3 separate regions of the Homo sapiens genome follow, and regions 1 and 3 are each linked to region 2. The links are contacts of gene promoters, found by promoter capture Hi-C in blood cells and fetal thymus (Javierre and others, 2016). All regions are on one chromosome and are shown on one strand. Each heading gives the region's core, a stretch centred on a gene start or on the middle of the fragment in contact. The rest is flanking DNA. Distances are from core to core; before and after follow the strand shown. Region 1 holds the start of BTN1A1 (butyrophilin subfamily 1 member A1). Region 2 holds the start of H3C11 (H3 clustered histone 11). Region 3 holds the start of ZNF322 (zinc finger protein 322).

What was found. The method cuts DNA at HindIII sites, captures the fragments that hold promoters and counts their contacts. A CHiCAGO score of 5 or more calls a contact.
Region 1: a contact is called between the fragment with the promoter of BTN1A1 here and the fragment with the promoter of H3C11 in region 2, in 2 of 17 cell types (monocytes and M0 macrophages). The highest score is 8.7, in monocytes.
Region 3: the fragment with the promoter of ZNF322 here is called in contact with the fragment with the promoter of H3C11 in region 2 in 1 of 17 cell types (monocytes); the score reaches 12.4 in monocytes.

The regions. Positions count from the first base shown.
Region 1 is chr6:26,499,026-26,501,936 of GRCh38, forward strand. It overlaps BTN1A1 (butyrophilin subfamily 1 member A1), which reads left to right and starts at 1,278. Exons shown (of 8, transcript NM_001732.3): 1 at 1,278-1,333; 2 at 2,205-2,340; 3 at 2,565-2,911. The coding sequence starts at 2,262. The region is part of intron 1 of LOC107986583 (a long non-coding RNA gene); the gene reads right to left. RefSeq lists an enhancer at 2,567-2,696. The HindIII fragment of the contact is 5,298 bases long and covers 1-2,911 here.
Region 2 is chr6:27,870,810-27,874,098 of GRCh38, forward strand. It overlaps H3C11 (H3 clustered histone 11), which reads right to left and starts at 1,537. Exons shown (of 1, transcript NM_003533.3): 1 at 1,036-1,537. The coding sequence starts at 1,506. The coding sequence ends at 1,096. H4C13 (H4 clustered histone 13) reads right to left here and starts at 2,725. Exons shown (of 1, transcript NM_003546.3): 1 at 2,339-2,725. The coding sequence starts at 2,701. The coding sequence ends at 2,390. RefSeq lists enhancers at 1-371, 2,287-2,924, 2,356-2,405, 2,706-2,875, 2,956-3,005. The HindIII fragment of the contact is 2,761 bases long and covers 1-1,794 here.
Region 3 is chr6:26,658,292-26,661,158 of GRCh38, forward strand. ZNF322 (zinc finger protein 322) reads right to left here and starts at 1,455. Exons shown (of 4, transcript NM_024639.5): 1 at 1,150-1,455; 2 at 267-355. RefSeq lists enhancers at 885-1,385, 1,106-1,155, 1,166-1,355, 1,386-1,886, 1,586-1,645 and 1 more. The HindIII fragment of the contact is 5,113 bases long and covers 1-2,867 here.

The DNA of each region.
Region 1 (2,911 bases), core at 28-2,527, 1.4 Mb before region 2:
AGGAGTTCGAGACCAGCCTGGCCAACATGGTGAAACCCTGTCTCCACTAAAATACAAAAATTAGTTGGGCATGGTGGCACGTGCCTGTAATCTCAGCTACTCAGGAGGCTGAGGCAAGAGGAAAATCCTTTGAACCCTGGAGGCGGAGGTTGCAGTGAGCCAAGATTACGCCACTGCACTCCAGCCTAGGCGACAGAGTGAGATTCCGTCTCAAAAAAAAAAAGAAAAGAAAAGAAATATGCTTATACCATTTGATCTGATGACTCTATTTCTGGAAATTTATTAAACAGTTTATCAGGACATTATCCAATTTGCAAATAAAGACTTATATATAAAGTGTATTATTTACAATAGGAAAAAAATCCCAAATGTCCCACAATCATGGCAATTATACAACTATTAACAATATTTTGAGTTACACAAAAAGTCTAATTGATTGCTTTTATGATATACATAAGCATAAAATAAATCTTGGAAGGACTATGCCAAAATGTGAATTGAGGCTATCATTAGTTAGTAGATTAAGTGTGACCTCCATTTTATAAAAATATTTTTCTGTATTTTTAAATTTTTTCATAACAATGAGAGGTAGGTTTAGTATAAATTAAGGAATTGTAGGCCTCATGATGAGTTGCTTCAAAAGAAATAATTGTCAGGGAGGCAACTTTTGGGCCCTGTAAACAGAATTCACAGCCTACCCTTAAGACTGGCCTTTAATGGAGTTGTTCCAACAGACACAGCACCTAAGGTGGACGGACGCTCCAATAACGAAGATGGCTATAGACAGAGGCTACTGCTACCTTGGCCTCTGGGCTTTCATTTTTCAACCCGCAGAAATAATAATAGAATAACAATTTATCCTCCGCTGAGTTCCTACTATGTGCTAAGCACTTTACCTGCTTAATCTCACTTAATCCTCCCAACACCTCTTCAAGAAAGGTATGATCAATATTATTACCATTTTAGAGATCAAAGAACTGAGGCTTGGAAAGAGGAAATAACTGGCTGAAGCCATCACATCTCATTTGTGTGTTTCCTTGCCTCTCTTCTCTTTTTCTCTTTTCTGCCTTTCATTTGGTCCAGCTCATCAATGCATATCTTGATTTCTGAGCTGAAGACCACAAATCCAGTTTTCCATCTCTCTGAAAAACTTTTCATCTCCCTTTTTTTTTTCCTCAGAGTGAATATACCAGGCCACCTGGAGGCAGGCTTTCCTGAGAGCACCTCCCGCTTCCTTTTCCTGCTGGCTTTTAACTTTTGCCCCGGGGGCCACAGCCAGCTTTCTCACTTGGTAGCAGTGGCCTCTTGTGCCTTTTTCTCCAAGATCACCCAGGTCAGTATGTGTGGTTACTCTCAGCTCCCTGAGGGAGTGAGCAGCCAGAGGGGCATAGCATACTTCTCTCCCTCCAGCTCCTTTCTCCTTGGTCCTAGGCCCTCTACTCTTCAAGCCCTTTTGCTTGCTTCAGCTCCTGCTTCTTGCTCCATCTCCTCCCATCTTTTCTCTCTTCTCCAATTCATTTCCTTGGACTCCATTTCTGCCTTTATACCCTTATCTTTATTATCATTGCCAAAAGCAAATACCAAATTCTTGTATTTGAAAAAAGACTTTGGCCAGGCACGGTGGCTCACGCCTGTAATCCCAGCACTTTGGGAGGCCAAGGCGGGTGGATCACGAGGTCAGGAGTTCGAGGCCAGCCTGGCCAACGTGGTGAAACTCCGTCTCTACTGAAAATACAAAAAATAGCGGGGCATGGTGGTGCGCGCCTGTAGTCCCAGCTACTCCGGAGGCTGAGGCAGAACAATCGCTTGAACCCAGGAGGCTGAGGTTGCATTGAGCCGAGATCATGCCACTGCACTCCAAGCTGGGCAACAGAGCAAGACTGTCTCAAAAATAAATAAATAAATAAATAAAAAGGAGACTTTTTTTTTAGTGCAGTGATTCCAAGATTTGTTCATCGATATGCAACCAACTAATGAGTGTTATGCCTCACAGTTCCCTTCTCCTAAGTTTTAGAGTTAGAGTAGTGGGTGGGAAGGTGATAACCACAGTGTAAACTAAAAATCCATACTGGGGATGGAGGCTGAGAGGAGGTTTCAGGGGCAAATGACCAGAACACTTGCAGCTGGAAAGAACTGTAGAGAGGACTTTGGAAAGCGGAGGGTTGACAGAGCCGGTAGTTGTCTCCTGTCCATTCATCTCCTAGGCTGAAGCTCCTGAGGGGACTCACATCAGTTATCTTGCTGCTCCAGAAGGGTGGGAGATGGCAGTTTTCCCAAGCTCCGGTCTCCCCAGATGTCTGCTCACCCTCATTCTCCTCCAGCTGCCCAAACTGGATTCAGGTAAGTCTCTCTCTCTCTCTGGGCTGCATAGTTGAAATATATCAATAAATGTAAAATAAACAATCCCACTTGGCTCTCCCTGGAGACCTCCACTGGATCCAGACAAACTCAGCTGTCAAAGGAGTAAGAGAGCGCGGGGCACTGCGCTTTGGCGGGAATCTGGTCGGTGTCTGTCCGTAGTTCCCATCTCCACATCCCGTCTGATCCCGCTCGTTTTTCGGCAGCTCCCTTTGACGTGATTGGACCCCCGGAGCCCATCCTGGCCGTTGTGGGTGAGGACGCCGAGCTGCCCTGTCGCCTGTCTCCGAACGCGAGCGCCGAGCACTTGGAGCTACGCTGGTTCCGAAAGAAGGTTTCGCCGGCCGTGCTGGTGCATAGGGACGGGCGCGAGCAGGAAGCCGAGCAGATGCCCGAGTACCGCGGGCGGGCGACGCTGGTCCAGGACGGCATCGCCAAGGGGCGCGTGGCCTTGAGGATCCGTGGCGTCAGAGTCTCTGACGACGGGGAGTACACGTGCTTTTTCAGGGAGGATGGAAGCTACGAAGAAGCCCTGGTGCATCTGAAGGTGGCT
Region 2 (3,289 bases), core at 287-2,786:
TTAATACCCAGACTGATTCTCTCTGAAAAAAAAAAAGAAAGAAAAAATCTCATGAAAATCCAACTCCACAGTCTATGACAAGCATATGGTGAAATGACAGGAAAATATTTTTTAAGGTCCACTTAGAGCTAGAAGTTCATTTCATAGATGACAGCATGCAGTAGGTTAAAGTATCCCTCCTCAGAGGCCCACTACCTAACACATGGCTTGCTAAACATTACATTGAAACAGAACAAAAGTGTCGAGCTTTTTGTCAAAACTGTTACTTGCATGGGGTACGATGGCAACTTTGTTATGTGCATATGCTCCAAGGTGGTCAAGTTACATGGGCTATACAAGAGCTAAATAGCTTACATTGTACCAATTAAGTAACTTATCATTCATTCTTTCCTCCCTTCTGAGTCCTTATTGTCTATTGTTCCACTCTCATGTGTGTAGTTTTTAGAGCCTGTTGTTTTTTGTATTTTTGAGGCGGAGTCTCGCTCTGTAGCCCAGGCTGGAGGGCAGTGGCGCGATCTCGGCTCACTGCAACCTCTGCCTGCCAGGTTCAAGCGATCCTCCTGCCTCAGCCTCCCGAGTAGCTGGGACTACAGGCGCGTGCCACCACGGCCGGCAGTCTTTTTTTTAGTGGACAGGGGGGTTTCACCGTGTTAGCCAGGATGGTCTTGATCTCCTGACCTTGTGATCCGCCTGCCTCGGCCTCACCAGAGCCTGTGGACACTCATTGTGCTACTTGTTCCCTTCAGTAGGGGCAGGTAGATACGCAGGAGACACATTCCTCAAGGATAAAAACAGGAATACTTTTCAAAACTAAACTTCATCTGTAAAATTGACCCCATGACATGTCTTTTTTGAGTGATAATCCTTATCAGTAGGAACAGGTTCTGTATGTGAAATTGATTTAGCATACCAACAGCCTGTGACCTGACTCCTGCATTATAGTGTGTTGGGCCACTACCACGTTTTGTCCACAGCTTGTATTTAACATGGAGCTAAGACACGTCTCAAAAGCTACAGCTTCCTTTTGGTGACAATTGAGGGGCTCTGAAAAGAGCCTTTTGGGGTTGGACAGACTTCTTGGGCTGATAGGAATATTTATGCCCTCTCCCCTCGGATGCGGCGCGCAAGCTGGATGTCTTTAGGCATAATAGTGACGCGTTTGGCGTGAATGGCGCACAGGTTGGTATCCTCAAATAGCCCCACCAGGTAGGCCTCGCAAGCCTCCTGCAGCGCCATCACCGCCGAGCTCTGGAAGCGCAGATCGGTCTTAAAGTCCTGTGCGATCTCCCGTACCAAGCGCTGAAAAGGTAGCTTCCGGATTAGCAGCTCGGTCGACTTCTGGTAGCGGCGGATCTCGCGCAGGGCCACGGTGCCGGGGCGGTAGCGGTGGGGCTTCTTGACGCCACCGGTGGCCGGAGCGCTCTTGCGAGCCGCCTTGGTGGCCAGCTGCTTGCGCGGCGCTTTGCCGCCGGTGGACTTGCGAGCTGTTTGCTTTGTTCGTGCCATGGCTAAGTAGACGTACCTACTCAACACAAATGAGAGAAAAAAACTGATCATCCCGGTATTTATAGCTGCCCTCGCGTTCTGATTGGACAGTAGACTGTGCCATGCCACGTCTCACACACGGAATTGGCTCCCAGTTTAATCTGCTAGTGAAAGGGAGACATTCCGCCTCTGTTTTGGGTCAAGAAACGTAAAATGGTTTTGCTAGCTAAAGAAAAACAAAAACGGAAACAAAAAAAAATCCCCCAAAAGTCTAGGATTTTTCATGCATCAAAATCCTGTTTAAATATAAGCTTGATAAATCTAAACTTGCCTTGCACTATTTTAATTACGAGGTGTCATTACTGATTTGACAAAAAGTTAAAGAACGTAAAGGAAAAGTGAAACTAGAGTAAATTTGTAAATGGAGGCATTGAAGGGGATATGAAATTCGAGCGTTGTGGTATGCCAGTATTTCTCAAATTTAAACGTACTTAATGTTTTAGAAGTTGGCCGACTTTTTCTGTAAAGGGCGATATTAAAACATTTTGGGCGTTGCGGACCACAGTGTCATAGTTACACAGCCCTCGCATTGGTAGCGGTAAAGTAATCGATACAAGATAAATGAGACCGGCTGTTTCATTATGACTTTTGCAAAAACCAGAGAGGCGTTATAGATTTGGCCGTGTATCAGAGAAGCCGGCACTTTTAACCACTAAGTAATGCTGAAAGGGGCACCGAACCTCAAACTTCAGCGACTGCTTATGTGGAATCGCTAATTTGCCAAAACTGCCATACGTTTAAGTGTTCTTAAGAAATTAACTATCTTTAGTCTACAGCTCTTTCACAGACTTCATGGGTGGCCCTGAGAAGGGCCTTTGAGGAACCGTGTAAGTAAGTAAAACACTCAGCCGCCAAAGCCATACAGGGTGCGGCCCTGGCGCTTGAGCGCGTAAACCACGTCCATGGCTGTGACTGTCTTGCGTTTGGCGTGCTCCGTGTAGGTAACTGCATCGCGGATTACATTCTCCAAAAACACTTTAAGAACTCCGCGTGTCTCCTCGTATATAAGGCCTGAGATGCGCTTAACGCCTCCACGCCGTGCCAGGCGTCGGATGGCGGGCTTGGTGATGCCCTGAATGTTGTCGCGCAGAACTTTGCGGTGGCGCTTAGCGCCTCCTTTGCCCAGACCCTTCCCGCCTTTGCCGCGCCCAGACATGTCTTGTACTAAACAAAATGCAACACGGCAAGCCTCGCAGCAGTACTTTATATAGTAATAAATCGGACCTGATTGGGAACTCTCCACACCAGCTGCATCCGGTCGGCCGATTCACAGACCTTGCGCCCTGCCCACGACTTCAGGAAAAAATGGAAAAGGGGGTACTTAAACTCCAGTTTCTAAAAATGATGCCCAGTTAAAAATTACTCAGCTCATCTTGCCCTTCTACAGTGTTTTAGGCTGACCACCGCTGCATTCCATTGTCTGGGTCTTTGCAGCCTGTTTTTCCTGTCACCTCTTAGCATCGATTGTTCTAGTGCTTTGTGGCTGCTGGAATCAAATGGCGCCATCTCTAGAGGGGTAATCACAGTCGTTTCGGGCATTTGTGAAATAGCGTGTAGAAACTGCTTCCGTACAAACTCGAAGTGATCAGCCTATGGAGTGGCTGACTGCAAAAGACGACGCCTGATGATAGCTCCAAGGTGGGATTCCTCACCTTTCTCAAATTTGGTTCTCTATTCTTTTCCTTATATTTTACTCTTTCTGTAGCTGTCCTTTCTGTTCCTTTCTCTCCCTCGCCAACCACAT
Region 3 (2,867 bases), core at 205-2,704, 1.2 Mb before region 2:
CATACTACCCTCTTTGTGCTACAAATCAATCAAAAAGCAATTACTGCAAGCCTAATGTGAATATGCATGCATGTTGAAAAGGAGTAGAAAATAGCCTTAAGTTGGTAGGATAGGGCTCAGTTTTATCACTCTGCTATCTTAGGAGCTAAGAAAGGGGCATTCTCTTTTTCCATATATCTTCTCCCATACTTTCCTGTCTTTCACCCTGCCCCACCCCACACCCCCATCCACATTTATACAGAAACAGAGCCTGGTATACCACTTACCGTAACAAGAAAGACTCAAGACCATCTTCCTTTTGGTTTCAAAAGGTCTCTAGTTCAGAACTATTCACAACACTCAATTCTTGCCTCTCCTAGAGGAAAAATCAATAATGTAGACGATGACCTTGTGAAATTTATAATTCATAATTTTTCTAGAGCTGGCCTAGAAAACTGGTCCCATTTCCTCTCCATTCTAGTGAGCATCCTTCAACCATAGCTTACCTCTTCCCATCTTTGCTTACACTGTTTCTCCTGCAGGAAGTACCTGCCACTGGTAGCCATCAGTTCCGACCAGCTCTAGACAAAATGTCAAGAATCTTTCTATTACTAACTGTAACTTCATAACAAAGCCCTAAGCCTCGTTTTTCGTTTGTTTTTTCTCCTTCTGCTAATTGTTTTTGTTTGTATTATCTCAACTCCTAAGATCAAAGACCCATTCGTCTACCACTACAAACCCCAAAGTGCATGTGATAAGTGTATATAATATAAAGTTATCTGTAATTCCATTTTCCAAAAAGAAATGGTTATAGGAAGATTAAACAAACCAGATTTTTCTGCAGATAGATTCAACTGCAACATAACTAATTTCTGCACTGAAGATGAAGCGAAAAATCCATTCAAGGTCCTTTTTTTCCTCGATATATATGAAAGATTATATTGCTTTGAAAAGTGCCTTGCAGTGTTTACTATCTCTAGGAACTACCGTACTAAGGTTCTCTTCTTTCAACTTTTCATTGACCATCTTTCAGTCCTCCGTCCGCCGTCAGCGGAGACCAGACCATGCTCAGTGTCCAGGAACAGGGGCTGCTCCCACTCGACTGTGGCCGTGGGTCTTGGGTCCCACCGCGCACCCATCCCACCCCTGGGCCCCGCAGGCCGCGCTTACCCTGGCAGCCGCCGGCGCCGCCCCTAGGCCTGGGGACAGCACTTCCGGTTACTCTCCGGACACTCGAATCTGGGCTTCCTGGCGGCCGCAGACTCTGCGATAGTAGATCTAAGGGCCAGGCTTCGGGAAGGAAAGAAAAGCGAACCCGGCACGGACAAGACCTAGGAGCAACTCCCTTCGTGCGCCTAGACTAGAGGAGTTGGGGCCAGGCCGCCCACAGAGCGCTTTAACAGAGCGCTTCAAGGGCCCACAAGGCCGGCTACGCAAACCCTTTCAAGCTGGCTGGGAAGAGGCCGGCGCAGCCCCACCCCCGCAAGTCACATGATCACCCCTCTCCGGCCACTAGGGCGTTCCAACCCCGGCCCCTGGGCCAATAGGAGCCGAGTCTTCGGAAAGGGGCGGGGCCCGGGGCGCCTGCGCTCTGGGAGCCCTCGGCGTTTTGGTGGGAGGGGGTCTTGCTGGCGCAGTGGAAGGCCGGCTGCGGGGGGAGGCGATCGCTGCCACCCTGTCTAAGAAGAAACGGCACCAACAGCGTTGCAGTTTATGTTACAGTTTCCCCAAGGCTGTTAACCGAGGACTCAAACCAGGAGTAGAGTCACAAAGATTAGATGCCACTGACCCTGAGAGAAACACCAGGAAAGATCTGGGAGAGATAGAGGATTCTGAAGCACAGTGGCAGCGCTGTCATCCACGAAGATGTGGCCAGCGAGATGGAAGAAATGCTTTTAAAAGTGGTGGACTTGTGTGGGTGGAGAAAACAGCAGCGAGAGAAAGTACTGTGGGAGGTTCCCCAGTCCTTGCTGATTATGTTTCTGATTTGGAATCAGCTAAGAGTAAATCACCTAGTGGTGGGGCTGGAACAGAACTCAGTTCTTTAGGTTGAACACTGGGTATTCTCCCAGCTCAATTGTTAAATTAAAAAAAACAAACCAACAAAAAACAGTTTTTAAATGTCCTCAGCTATCAAAGGGAAAAGATGAGTAGTAGGAATATGGAAAACTAAACCCTGGGCAGCCTGGCCAAGGACTTGGATTGTGAGCCAGTTGCTGAGGTTTAGTAATTGGGGAGCGCAGTCTCTGAGACACGTATTCAGTATTAACTAATCATGTTCCTACTAGTGGAATTCTTCCGCAGAGGGTCTACAGCTTATTCTACTTTCATGTTTATTTTTAATGAAACTTTCAAGGTCAAAATATTCCACTCAGGGTTGTCTTAATATTTTGAATAATAACATTTTGAGTGTGTAGCATGTATCAAACACTGTTCTAATAACTTTACACTATTGTCTCATTCAGTTGTAACAAAAATCGTGTGAGATATGTATTCTTTTAGGAGGAAACTGGTGCACAGAGAGATTAAGTAGCTTGCCCAGGATCACATATTACTGATGAAGCTGTAATGTGAACAGTCTGATGCCAGATTCTGTGCTTGCAGTCACTATACTTATGGCTACCTCAATAGTGGTGAGTGTATTGTGTAAAATTATTGGAATAAAAATTAAGCAAGTTGGATTCTGATCTCTGCACTGCATATAACAAGGTCTGAATATGTGTAGAATTGAACTGTTCAACCTTTTCTTTCAGGATACATTGGCCCAAAGTACTCTTTATTAATTGTTTTATTCAGTTAAACATTTATTGAGCACCTCCAATTAACAGGACACCATAGGCCGGGCACGGTGGCTCACGCCTGTAATGCCAGCACTTTGGAAGGCTGAG